2 separate regions of the Homo sapiens genome follow, and region 1 is linked to region 2. Evidence: promoter capture Hi-C in 16 types of primary human blood cells and fetal thymus (Javierre and others, 2016). All regions are on one chromosome and are shown on one strand. The core of a region is centred on a gene start or on the middle of the fragment in contact, and the rest is flanking DNA. Distances in the headings are between cores, read along the strand shown. Region 1 holds the start of YTHDF3 (YTH N6-methyladenosine RNA binding protein F3). Region 2 holds the start of TMEM68 (transmembrane protein 68).

Region 1 (6,765 bases), core at 1,956-4,455, 7.4 Mb after region 2:
AGGGTCCGCGGCTTCATTTTTGAAGACAGTGAGACCAAGAACCCACCAATTCCAGACACACCACCACCACTGTCGGCTTTTTTTTTTTTTTTTTTTTAATACATGGACTTTTGGTCCAACCCTAGAGCTTCTGATTCTGTAAATAAGGGCTGAGTCCTGAGAATCTGCATTTGAATAAGTTCCTAGGAGATGTTGCTGCTAGTCCCAAGGAAACAGTTTGAAGAAATTGCTTTAAGCAAATCTTAAGGTTATTTGATGTTTTCTGCTGCCTTTTTCTTACCATTGTAAATTTCTCTGCAGTAAACTTAAGAATAAATGGAAAAGTTTTGGCTTTTCTGTTTCAAAGCAGATTGATTGACTGATTTTTTACTTTATTCAGTGTCCTTCTTAGCTATTAGTGGTTTTACCTTATGCATGATATTTAAGAATACCTCCTTTTAAAAGTGCATCGATCAATCCTCAAGCTGAATTCTCTACACTTCGTTCATGTACTATATATGTTACTTAAAGATAACAGAAAGCCTTATAAATTTTGGCTTAAACACTGGTAAAATTCAAAGATAAGTTTAAGTGCTGCTAGTTAACAAAGCAAATCCAGGAAATTACTAGGCACAGAGTTTATTACTAAGTATCCCCCCACCCATTCTCCCCCTCTTCCTTAGTAATAAACATCCTCATTTTTAACTGAACACATGGCCACTCAGAATATATTTTCCAGCTTTCACTTAACTTTAAATACTTGTAGGAAACTATGTTTTAGTTAGTAGAAAGTAGCCAGAAATGTTAATATAGTTTGGATGTTTGTCCCCTCCAAATTTCACAATTAAATGTAATCCCCAGCCGGGTGCGGTGGCTCAAGCCTGTAATCCCAGCACTTTGGGAGGCCGAGGCGGGCGGATCACAAGGTCAGGAGATCGAGACCATCCTGGCTAACACGGTGAAACCCCGTCTCTACTAAAAATATGAAAAATTAGCTGGGCGTGGTGGCAGGATCCTGTAGTCCCAGCTACTTGGGAGGCTGAGGCAGGAGAATGGTGTGAACCTGGGAGGCGGAGCTTACAGTGAGCCGAGATCGTGCCACTGCACTCCAGCCTGGGCGACAGAGCAAGACTCCATCTCAAAAAAAAAAAAAAAAAAAGTAATCCCCAATGTTGAGGGTGGAGAGGCATTTGGATCACTGGGGCAGATCCTTCATGAATGGTTTAGCACCATCCCCTTGGTGATGATTGAGTTCTTTCTCTGAGTTCACAGAAGATCTGGTTGTTTAAAAGTGTGTGTCACCTCCCCCATCTCACTCTTGCATCCATTCTCGTCATGTGTAAGCTAGCTCCCCCTTTGCCTTCTGCCATGATTGCAAGCTTTCTGAGGCCTCATCAGAAGCCAAGCAGATGCTGGACCATGCTTCCTGAATAGCCTGCAGAACAGTAAGTCAATGAAACCTCTTTTCTTTATAAATTTCCCAGTCTCGGGTATTCCTCTGTAGCGATGCAAAAACAGACTAATACAAATGGGAAAAATGCAATTTCTACAAAATGTCCTTAAAGGAGAACAATGTGCTTTCTTAACCTTGTTTTTCTGCTGGTGGGAATGTGATTAGGATGGCTGGAAGTTGAGCAGCCATCATGGGCCACAGGTAGAGGTATCATAATGAGGATTGTTAGATATGAGTTCTAAATTTCTTTTCAAAGAATCAATATGTCAGTATGTTCAATTCTTTGCCTTTTACTTTTAAACTTAACTTCCTCATAAAGCAACCTTTTTCGATTACCTGCTCCATCCTGACTCATTCTGATTACCTACTCCACCCTGACTCATTCCAATTACCTGCTCTGTCATAACCATTTTTCCCGCCAAACCACTCACCCTGTCAGTCTCTTTAAGTTAGCCAGTCAGAATTAGTTTAGCCTGTGCGGTCTAACCCTAGCCAATAGGGGAACAACACAGCAGAAGGGGCCACATGCGTCAGGGATAGAACCCCTTCCCTTCCCTTGTCTAAGTCTGTGCTCACCGTTGTTCCATCTGTAAGGGTGCACCCTTCTGTAGAAGTAACTTGCCTTGCTGAGAATTAAAAAGTAAATTCTATATTCGAGTGCTACTTCTTTTGTGGCAACAAAACTTTATTTATAACAGGATGGTGGAACAACAGACTAGAAGAAGCCTGGATTATCTGATACAATGGCAACCCAAGTCCTGGAGTATATCCAGACTGCTGTTGTATGAGAAAAACAGATTTCTATCTTCGGCTCCTGTTATTTTGAACTTGATACCACTTGTAGCTGAACCTAATTTGAACTGATACAAGTAATCATACAGAAGTTACAGTTGTGCAGACTGGAACTTCACTGTCTGTAATTTCAGCACTTTGGGAGGCCAAGGTGGGAGGATCCCTTGAGCCCAGGAGTTGGAGACCAGCCTGGGCAACATAGCAAGAACATGTTGCTATAATTAAACAACAAAACAACAAATAACAACAACACACGCACACACAAACACCAAAGTTGGCTGAGGGAAAAATGGGGCCTTAAATCCAGCCTGCCCTCTCCTTTCCAAGCTTTGCACTGTGCTGTGTGCTCCAGGAGACTGACACACCCTAGTGGCTCTTTAGAAGAGTGCATTTTTACCTAGAAACTAGGCTCTGTGGCAACATTTTTCAAAATATCCTCTCCATTCTCCTTGCCCAAGACCATGGGAACCCATCTCTTGCATCATCATGACATGGATGTGAGACCTGGAGTCAAAGGGGATCATTTTGGAGCTTTAAAATTTGAGTGCCCTTTGCATGGGCCCTGTAACCCCTTTGTTTTGGCCAATTTCTCCCATTTGGAATGGCTGTATTTACCCAATATCTGTACCCCCTTTGTATCTACGAAGTAGCTGGCTTGCTTTTTATTTTACAGGCTCATAGGCGAAAGGGACTTGCCTTGTCTCAGATGAGACTTTGGACTGTAGACTTTTGGGTTAATGCTGAAATGAGTTAAGACTTTGGGGTACTGTTGGGAAGGCATGATTGGTTTTGAAATGTAAGAAATGAGATTTGGAGGGGCCAGGGCAGAATGATATAGTTTGGCTATGTCCTCACCCAAATCTCAACTTGAATTTATCTCCCAGAATTCCCACGTGTTGTGGGAGGGACCCAGGGGGAGGTAATTGAATCATGGGGACCGGTATTTCCCATGCTAATCTCATTATAGTGAATTAAGTCTCATGAGATCTGATAGGTTTATCGGGGTTTCCCACTTTTGCTTCTTCCTCATTTTCTCCTGCTGCCCTCCATGTAAGAAGTGGCTTTTGCCTCCTGCCGTGATTCTGAGGCCTCCCCAGCCATGTGGAACTTTAAACACAATTTAACCCCTCTTTCTCTTCTCAGTCTCGGGTATGTCTTTATCAGCAGCATGAAAACGGACTAATACACTCCTGGAGGCATTGGAGATGGTTTCAGGTAGTCCCCAGATGTACTTCAAAAGTCTGTTAATATTAAATTAAGTAGGTTTATATCTGAGGGTAGGTATTATTGCTAGGAAGAAAAGCCATAAAGAAAGAAGTTTGTTGAGCAAAAATGAAAGAGAATAGAAGCTCATAATATTATGTCATTAGGCAGTATTATATGGTAGTTATTAGAGTGGGAACTTGGGAGTCACACTGCTTGAGTTCAAATCCTGGCTCTCATAGTGACTAGCTGTGTTGTTTGTGGCGTGTTTCCTAACCTCACTGTGTCAGTTTTTATAATGGCACTTCTGCAAGGATGCTGTGGGAATTAACATGACATATAATGTGTTCTCAATAAATGTAAGCGATTACTATTTCCGGGAATCTTTTAGCGAAGGAACAATTCATTACCTGTATATAGCCACAATTTGCTGAAAGCTTACTTTTGTGTCAGGAACTGTACACGAAGGACCTAATTTTACTCATGAGGAAGCTAAAGCTTAGAAAGTTTCAGTGCCTTTACCAAGATTATAACACTAATTCTTGCTCCACTAGAATTTAAATTCGAATTGATTGGGTTCCAAAGCCATGATACTAAGGATCAAAGACAAGGCTTGCAAGATTTAAGCCTCCTCTTGTATATTCTCTCTCAAGTTCCTGGCTCATAGCATGTACCAGCAAACTCATTAAAACTAAAACGGTCTGTTTGGGAGTGAAGGATGGGAGACATTGAGAGCAACAGCAGAAAGGGTTGGGGGAGTCTTGGGAAATGCAAGGGTGCTTAGGTTGGGACCCGTGGCAATGAATGGAAGGGCAAGGGAAACTGTCTAACCAGAACTTAAAAATGCCTCTTGGTGATTTACATGAAAAGTGGCCTCTCAAGTTTTTCTATTATTCAGTGCTTCTAAGATACTGTTGCACTGTAAACCACAAAATTAATCTTATGATTCTACAATTTTACTTTCTAAATGATCACTTATTTGATGGTTTTTGAAGTACAGAAAGTATTTGGTCATTTAAATTATTTCCTTCCATGGACTCTGTATCACTGAGACAAGGAATCTTTGCCTTTATTGTAGATATTTCAATGAAAATGTCAACACGTTGCAAATTGGCATACTTTGGGTTTGCCAATATGTGATAAAGAACTTTTTCAATGGAAACTTTCCCTCTTTTCAGGGCCGAAAAGACGCTCTGCAACTATACTTAAGTATCCTAGGCAACTTTATTCATTCAAAAACATCAGAGCGGAGTCAAAAGCACAAATCCATGAATTGGGCGGCGAAGTCTGACTCCAGAGATTACGGCTGAACTGGGTTTGGAAAGACTGAACCCGCGCCGGTGCTCCTCCTGTTTGCTTGGACTTAAGTTTGAGTACCACAACTCTAACCTGCCACTTCAGCTGCACGGGCAGGCTTGTGGGGACCCAGCAACTCCGTCCAGAGAGCGGCTGAGTCAGCCAGCCGTCCCCACGGCTTTGGGCAGCCGCCGAAGGCTCCTGCTAGGCCCGGCTGGCTCACCGGGAAGTTCCCTGCCTCCGTCCCGTCAGCCTCCAGGAGGGCGCCGCCGGCCGCCGTGACTTCAGCAAGGCACTACTATCTCCGTCAGCCGCCGCCTCGGCCATCTTCCTGCCCGGAGTGCAACAAAATCCGGCTCTGGCCAGCCTTCCAGCTGACGCCACTCTGCCAGGGCCCTGCAGCCTCGGAGCGGGATAGAAGGAAGCCGCAGAAAAGACGCTGAAAGTTGGCGCTCGCTGACGCCCCGACGCGCTCCCTCCATGACGCATGCGCCCACCGGCCGTGAGCGCGGGTCCGGTCTCCGGTGACGTGGCGGTGAGGAGGCGGAGCCAAGATCAGCGGCGGGAGGGTGGGGGAGGAAGAGCGAGGTGAGCGCGGACGTCAGAGTGGAGAGCGGAAGGTCAGGGAGGCTCGGAGCGGAAGTGAGACTAGGGAGTCTGTCCGCCATTGTGGACCCGAGAAGCAGAGAGCGAGAGGGGGAAGAGGAGCGTGCAAGCGGAAAAGACGGGCCTCTTCCTCCGACTCCCGAGCGCGAGGCCCTCATTTTGGGTTCTCAGCGAACGGCGGCAGCGGCGGCGGCTGGAACAATCACTCGGCCAAGGGCGACAGCCAACTGCTGTGAGTGCACGGGGAGAGGCCCAGGCAGCGGCGGCGGCGGCGGCTCTCGGGTTGCGGTGAAGAATGTCAGCCACTAGCGTGGATCAGGTGAGGGAGCAGAGGCCCCAGGCTTGGCGAAGGCCCGAGCCCCGGAGCTCCACCCTCGCGCGGGGCTTCGGCTCCTCCCCGTCGCCGCCGCTGCCGGCCCCATAACGGTGCCCCGGGCGCAAGTTGCTGCGGTGTAGCTACCCGGGCCGGGGCGTGCGCCCTGGCCCCGTAGCTTGCGGGCGGGCGGGCGCGGTGCCGCGGCGGGTGGGGGCAAGGACCGGTCTTAGGGGCCTTAGGACAGATCCTGAGGGCGGCAGACATGGGGCGGAGACCGGGCGAGCTCTGGGAGACGGATTCCGAGTGGCGGGTGGGAGGTTTAAAGGCTGGGGGTGGTTGGGAAATTGGTGGCTGTGGAGGATATGGTGGGTTTTTACTCCTACGCGGATAGTCTAAAATAACTTGTCTTTGATAATGCCTTTGATTAACACACTTTTTCTTTTCTTCCTTTTTCTCCTCTTTACCGCATCTTTCGTCTTGCAACACAGAGACCTAAAGGGCAAGGAAATAAAGGTGAGTTTGGATTTTTTTTTTTCTTATTGCTCAATGTTGCCTTAATGTTACTTTTAAACTCTGTGAGGGTATTTTGTTTGTTTTTGCTCCCTCTTGGGAAAAAATGTAGGATTAGGGAAAATATTCATCATGGCTAAGGTAGCCAAGTTCTATCCAGAACTTCGGTAGTTCGTTGCTTTGAAGCCACTTTATAGAAACCAAAGTAGTACGAGAAACAGTTTCCTTGTCAGTTAAGCAGGTATTGGTGTGAACCTGGTGGTATTTCTTTGGTTTTCCAGTTTTTCTGTGTTATGTAACTTATGCCACAAAAAATTTCTACATGTGTATATAGACAAGTATATTCTTAAAGTGGACATTTTGTTTGACATGTCTGGATTACACTGGAAAATGGAAGTCTACATAGTATTCCATCACATTAATGAAAATTGTACTGTTAATCACTGATTCTATTGAAGTCAGTTGTAATGAGGCAACAACATGAGAGAGGTTAGAACTGAGTAGGCATGCCATCTTGCTCTATTGTTCTGATTGCAAGGTGTGACTCTATCTGGTATTTTATAAAGGGCTGAGAAGAAAATAGTTTGTGACATTTTTTCCAGGATTTTAT
Region 2 (7,220 bases), core at 524-3,023:
AGATCCTGTCTCAAAAAAAATAAATAAATAAATAAATAAAGTATATCTATTTTGAACACCCATTACCAGTACTTTTCCATTTTACTTTTAGTATATAAGTCACATTGAGAACATTCTGAAAATGCCAATTAAAAGATATAGTCACTGAAAAACAAGTTTTCCTGTTTCCTTTCTGCATATTTAATAATGGTTTAACAGAGATACAGCACTGTTTTACTGAATAGGACTTCTACTTCAAACCATGAATAAAGCTGCAATTTAGTATTTGTCAAGATAGCTGGTAAATCTAATCCTTTTAGCTTTAATACTTTTTTTATTTCAAGCTTTAAACTCGAGGTTCTGATACAAATTACCCTTCAAGACTTTTCTTTAATCCTAGAATGCCCAACTTCTAGCTAAAATCTTCCACTCTGTTTCATAATTACTGTTCTACCCTTATTATCGTAACCCAGCTACTCATCCCAATAATGCTGCACATCTATACTGGTATATCTGTAACCGTGCAGCACTCTTACCTTCTTGAACCAACAAAATCAGCCTATCTCCGACCTCAAAGTAGGGCAGCAGTAAGGAGGTGGGAATAAACATTTGAAAATGAATATTTCCACTAACTAGTAAATGTGGCCAAAATACTATTGAAAATACCATTCAAAATGCATGAATTTTAGCTCAGTTTTTATATAGTTCTGAAGAAGTACCAATACTATTTTGGCATTTCGTAGCACCAACCACGTCCGAAGCGCTCCAACTTTCAAGTCTGAGCTTGTCTCTGAAGAAGTTGCCCGTGCAGCCTCCATGAATACCACACACCAAATACTAACTGCTTTTTAACAGATCCAGCAACGCTGCTGTTTCCATTTTCTCCATCCTATTTATGCCCACATGAACTTTTTTCTTATTAGATAATTAGTAACTTGAAGGCAGAGACCTGTTTTACAGGCTGCAAACCCCAGGGACCGAGACAGCACTTAACGCCTACAAGGTCCAAACCGACGCCAACGATTAAGCGCACAAAGGAAAGGTGTAATATACATCATTTCGTTTAGTCCTCCCTGCAGCCTCATGTAGTAGTTACTATTAATCAACCCCATTTCACAGGTGATCAAAGGTAAGCTCAGAAAGGTGAAGTTGCCTGCCCAGGTCACAAGGTAGGACCAGGATTCCAAGCCTGATCGGTCTGGATACGAACGCTCTACCCACGCGGCTTTCCCCCTACACTCTCGGGATCACCACACACTTCCCCTTGGCTTTTACACCGGAGGCTCGACCTGGGTCCCGGAACCAGCGAAGCCACTGGGCAAGCCTAGAGGCCTCTACAGAGGCTAGAGACGCCTCGCCCCACCAGATGCATTAGGATGAAACGCGCCGAACCGAAGGTTTAGAGCGCCAGGGGAGAAGAGGGGCGGGGAGAGCAGGCTCTTTGACCCAGAGGAGGGAGGATCTCCACACCCGGCCACTCTGGCGCTGGGGCGCAACACTGAGGCCGGCGGGAAGCCGAGCCTGCCCGCGAAGAGACTGGGGATTCCGAGGCGGCTCCTGGGAGACCGGACGCGCGCGGCCTCCGCCGCTCCCAGTCCCGCCAGACCCGATGCCGGGCTGGAGAAGCGCGGGGGCCGACGCACCTCGGATAGGCGGGGGCAGGGGCAGGGGCAGCTCTCCTTTACCCTAGAGCGGCGACAGAAGCTCTTCGGGGGATCAGTGGCCAAGGGGGCGGACAGATTTGCACGGCGGATTCCTCCGAAGCAACCCGTGTGAAAGAAGCCAAGCGGCGGCTGCAGCCCGGGCCGCGATGGGGGTGACACCGCCCGTGGTCCCGCCCCTTCCCGTGGCCCCTCGGAGCCACTTCCGGCGGCAGCGTCCGGGCTAGTTCCCGGCGCGAGCGGCCGCGGGCCAGTTTCTATCTCCTCATCCAGGGCTTGCGGGCGAGGCCTGTTTTAAGTCTCCAGTAACCGAGCGGAGGCCCGGCAGGCGCGACCCGGGCTGCGTACGTCAGAGCTGCCTCCGAAGTGGTAAAATGTGCTGCGAGAAGTGGAGCCGCGTGGCGGAAATGTTTCTCTTCATTGAGGAGCGGGAGGATTGTAAGATACTGTGCCTTTGCTCCAGGGCATTTGTGGAGTAAGTAGAAAAGAGAATCTCTTCATGTTCTAGCACAGTCATTACCCAGAAATGTAGGTATTGCAAACGTGGTTGTAATTGATCCCTGAAAGCAGCCAGAACATCTGACCCTTGGGCACGGTGATGTTTAAGAAAAACAAAACCCTCAGACATGACGGAGTGGTCGCCCACTGCCATTATTTTTATGTGAAGGACTACATCTACTTGGTAGGCTGCTATGAAAAAATGTCGTAGGTGCTATATGTCATCTCATATTTGTAAATCGAGGGGACATTTAAAAATTGGGGGAAAGCGACATGTAAAATGAAATCTCTAGTAGATATGATGTCATAAAGTGAAAGTTTAAAGTTGAGTGACTTGCTTTGGTTAACGTCTTTTTTTAAACCTAAAAATCTACTTAAGCCCAAATGCACATAATTAAAACTTCAAACTAGTTGAGATAAAAGACTTAACCATATTTACATCAGTTTTTGTGATATCTTTATTTTGGGGAAATCTTTGAATCAGGTAAAAATTGCCCCACATGAAAAATAGCTAGTATGCAGGAATAATACCGCCAAGAGACTTGAATTCTAGGAATTGTTTCCTTTATATTAAATGCGTGAGTTAAACCACTTGAACCTTTTTTTCATCTCTATAACGGGTATATTTAATCTCACATGCTTATTTTGTTAGAGTTAAATCCTTGTGGAAGTGAATTTTATGTGATAGACTTTTAATATAGTTTAATATAGTAGGATTTAAGTTTGAAGGAATTCATTTTTCTCGTGTAATTTTGTGGAGTAATTTGAAAACGCAAAAAGAAGTTAAACTTGTTAAATTTAATGTAAAAAGTATTGTCGCCTTTTTAGTCAGGCATGCATGTAGTCATACAATCATTCAGAAAATGTTTTTTGTGCTCTTGTATATCAAGTATGCTGGTAGGCACTGAGGTACAAGACATTCTGTCCTTACATGTATTGAGTTTACTTCCTAGCAGAGAAGATCAATATTAAGATAACTGGTTACATTATTACTTGGTTGATTATAGTTATAAGTGCTATGAGAGAGAAGTGCAGGATGCTGTGAAAACAAATAACTTTCCAAGGGTCACAGAGGTTTCTTTGAGGAAGTAGCTTTTGGAAAGAGGTCTAAGGGGGATAAATTGGGGTGAGTTTCAGTGGGAGAAAGCGTTCTCTGCAGGCTGAACTCAGTAAAGGCCTTGAGGGAGCAAAAGAAAGCCTGGGAAACTGAACAAAATGGCTGGGAGGGAGGGCACGGTGGTGCACACCTGTAATCCCACCACTTTAGGAGGCCGAGGAGTGAGGATCACTTGAGCCCGGAAGTTGGAGACTAGCCTGGGCAACATAACAACACCTCATCTGTACTGAAATTTTTTTTTAAAATTAGCCAGCTGTGGTGGCACATGCTTGTAGTCCCAGCTACTCTGGAGGCTTGGGCCAGATGCTCTCTTGAGCCCAGGAGATCCAGGCTGCAGTTAGCCATTGTCGTGCCTGGATGACAGAGCAAGACTCTGTCCCGAAAAAAAAAAAGAAAAGAAAAGAAAGAAAAGAAAAAAAACTGGGAAAGAAAGAAGATAGGGTGTGCACAGTAGGCAGGGTCAAAACCCGCAGGACTTTGTAGACTATAGGAAAACCTTAAGCTGGGGAATGACATGATCAGATTTGCATATTTAAAATACTACTCAGGCGGCAGTGTGGAGGATTGTTTGGAGGAAGAGAACCACTTAAGACCATTGTTTAGGCAAGAGATTATAGTGACTTGGATTAGGATAAATGGCAGCAGAAATGGAGAAAGAAAGAAAGATGGGAGAAAACTTGCTGGGGGTGGGGACTGAATTGTATTGCTGCCTTTCACTGAGGTAGGGATCACTGGAGAATCATGAATTTTATTTTGGGTCAACGGAGAAGAGATTATGAGTTTGATTTTATACATTTTGATTTGGGGGTATCTATGAGATAACCAAGAGTAGATGGTATAAGCAGTTAGATATATTGATTTGGAGCGCTGGAGAAGTCTGGGCTAGTTTTAAAAACTTGAGCCATTTAGCCTTAGATAGTGATTGAACCCATGAATGAAGGGTGGGGGAGGGGGACCCACCTTTGAGGAATTCCAGCACTTTTTAAAGACAAGAAGAGATGGATTAACTAGGAAACAGACAAGCCTAAGTACACTGTCACCAAGTGTTTCAGTGAAGGTGTAATCAACATTGGAAAGCTGCCAAAATATCAAGCAAAATGAGGACTAAAAGTATCCACTAGAATTGACTAAATCCCTTGGATCGATTGACTGTAGCAGGAAGAACCGCAGACAAAACCCCTCAGACACCAGGTTAAAGAAGGAAGGGGTTTATTCGGCCAGGAGCATCGGCAAGACTCCTGTCTCAAGAGCCGAGCAACCCGAGCGAGCAATTCCTGTCCCTTTTAAGGGCTCACAACTCTAAGGGGGTCTGCATGAGAGGATCGTGATTGATTGAGCAAGCAAGGGGTACGTGACTGGGGGCTGCGTACACCACTAATTAGAAAGGAACCGAACTGGACAGGGGTCTTCACGGTGTCTTTTTTTTTTTTTTTTTTTTTGAGACAGAGTCTCGCTTTGTTGCCCAGGCCAGAGTGCAGTGGCGAGATCTCTGCTCACTGCAAGCTCCACCCCCTGGGTTCACGCCATTCTCCTGCCTCAGCCCACCAAGTAGCTGGGAATACAGGCGCCCGCCACAATGTCCAGCTAATTTTTTGTGTATTTAATAGAGACGGGGTTTCACTGTGTTAGCCAGGATGGTCTCTGTCTCCTGACCTCTGATCCACCCGCCTTGGCCTCCCAAAGTGCTGGGATTACAGGCGTGAGCCACTGTGCCCGGCCCAGTGCCTTTTTTATGCAAATAACCGATTAGGTCAGGGGTGGATCAGTAACTACCAGGCCCAGGGTGTGGCGCCGGGCTGTCTGCTTATGGATTTCATTTCTGCCTTTTAGTTTTTACTTCTTTCTTTGGAGGCAGAAATTGGGCATAAGACAATATGAGGGGTGGTCTCCTCCCTTAGATGACTTATTAAGTGCCACCACTAATTGTTCTACATTTTGTACTGACAGAGACTCTCCTTAACCAGACTTTACACAGGCTCTGAGTGAGCTCTCCTTTTGATTAGGCCTTGTCATTTGGGACTTGTCTTCAACCTGTCTGGTCCAGTTTTAACAAGAATCCTTCTAAGTCCATTAGTTTTTTTGTTTGTTGGTTTTTTTTTGGTGGTGGCGGGGTGGTTCTTGGGTGTTTTTTTTGTTTTGTTTTTTGGGTTTTGGGAGGTTTATTTTGAGACTGGGTCTCACTTTGTCACCCAGGCTGGAGTGCAATGGTACAATCACAGCTCACTGCAGCCTCAACTTCCCTGGCTCAAGCAATCCTCCTACCTTAGCCTCCTGAATAGCTGGGACCACAGCTATGCACCACCATACCTGCCTGATTTTTTTATTTTTTGTAGAGACAGGGATCTCACCTTGTTGCCCACACTGGTCTGGAATGCCTGGGTACAAACAGTTTTCCCACCTCAGCCTCCCAAAGTGCTGGGATTACAGGTGTTTTTTTTTTTTTTTAGCCAGAATCCTGCTAAGTCCATGTAGCAAGATCTTCCCACCCTTCGTATCTGATCGCTCTGGCCTGCCCTCAGCAAGAATACTGTTGGTATAGCAACAATCCCCCCATGCTGGATGTCTCCCCTTAGTAATTTTCCATCCACTGACCACGCCCCCTGAATTTTGCCCATTGGCTATCTTCAGCTGTCTTTGCTATATTTGAAGTTGAGCAAAATTTCTCTCCATTGCCATTATCTTTTTTTTTTTCTCTTTTGAGACAGAGTCTCACTCTGTCGCCCAGGCTGGAGTGCAGTGGCATGATCTCGGCTCACTGCAACCTCTGCCTCCCAGATTCAAGCAATTCTCGTGCCTCAGCTTCCCAAGTAGCTGGGATTACAGGAGTGCACCACCATACCCGGCTAATTTCTGTATTTTCAGTAGAGATGAGGTTTTACCTTGGAGGCTGGTCTCGAACTCCTGACATCAAGTGATCTGCCCGCCTTGGCCTCCCAAAGTGCTGGGATTACATGCGTGTGGCTACCATTATGTTGATTACTATCGCAATTATCCTAAATAAAGCCTTTCTTTACCATTTTAACAAATGTCAGAATAATTTAAATTTTTTTTTTTTTTAATTTAAGCCTTCTAGCAGCCCCCTGAGGTATGTCTTGTTATCCTCACTTATTCAAGTAGAAAATTGAGTCTTGGCTGGTTGTGGTGGTTGACATCAGTAATCCAAGTACTTCAGGAGGTTGAGACAGGCAAATCGCTTGAGCCCAGAAGTTCAAGACCAGTCTGGGCAACATGGCGAAACCCCATCTCTACTAAAAATACAAAAAATTAGCCAGGCATGGTGGGGCACTCCTGTAGTCCCAGCTATTCTGGAGGCTGAGTCCAGGAGGTGGAGGCTGCAGTGAGCCATGATCGTACCACTGCACTCCAATCCGGGTGACAGAATGAGACCCTGTCTCAGAGTCTCAGTAGTGGCCTAAAAAAAATCACATAGCCAGTAAATGGCAGCCTTAGAATTCTACCGCACATCTGTATGACATGAGAGCCTTTCTACTATGCTACCAGTTGGCATAGAACATGATTTCATTGAATCTCCCTCATTAAGGTATTTAAGTAGTCTAAAGTCACTAGAACAACTGATGTTCTGTTCAGACACTTTAACATTAATATAGATTCGTGGAGATAGAGGACTATTCTGGAAACTGAAGAGCCTATATTTCCCTCTGATCATACTCATGTGACAGTGTCTGATGGTGATCTCTAGTCTTTCATATATGATACAACGAAATTGTTTGATATGTTTTCCCCCCAACAGGTTCCTGAGTCAGAATTTAAAAGAGTAGTGACCTTATAGACAGCATATCTGTGTGCTTTTACAAAACTCAGCTGTGTGGCCTTAGGCAAGTCACATATTATTTCTGTGATCCCCTTTTAACCTTTCAGAAAGGGCTTCCTTTCCATTTTACTACTTGAAAATGAAGCTGATTCACAGTCCCTTTGCAAAAGAGGAATTGCTACTTGTACTTCAG

The links. The method cuts DNA at HindIII sites, captures the fragments that hold promoters and counts their contacts. A CHiCAGO score of 5 or more calls a contact.
Region 1: a contact is called between a fragment that was not itself captured here and the fragment with the promoter of TMEM68 in region 2, in 1 of 17 cell types (total CD4 T cells). The highest score is 6.7, in total CD4 T cells.

What each region holds. Positions count from the first base shown.
Region 1 is chr8:63,163,254-63,170,018 of GRCh38, forward strand. YTHDF3 (YTH N6-methyladenosine RNA binding protein F3) reads left to right here and starts at 5,368. Exons shown (of 5, transcript NM_152758.6): 1 at 5,368-5,648; 2 at 6,134-6,158. The coding sequence starts at 5,625. YTHDF3-DT (YTHDF3 divergent transcript) reads right to left here and starts at 5,189. Exons shown (of 1, transcript NR_102684.1): 1 at 4,472-5,189. RefSeq lists enhancers at 4,911-5,130, 5,331-5,650 and a silencer at 5,731-5,970. The HindIII fragment of the contact is 1,313 bases long and covers 2,550-3,862 here.
Region 2 is chr8:55,771,605-55,778,824 of GRCh38, forward strand. TMEM68 (transmembrane protein 68) reads right to left here and starts at 1,774. Exons shown (of 8, transcript NM_001286657.2): 1 at 1,665-1,774. TGS1 (trimethylguanosine synthase 1) reads left to right here and starts at 1,842. Exons shown (of 13, transcript NM_024831.8): 1 at 1,842-2,115. The coding sequence starts at 2,015. RefSeq lists enhancers at 676-1,179, 1,951-2,280 and silencers at 1,401-1,530, 1,621-1,810. The HindIII fragment of the contact is 10,724 bases long and covers 322-7,220 here.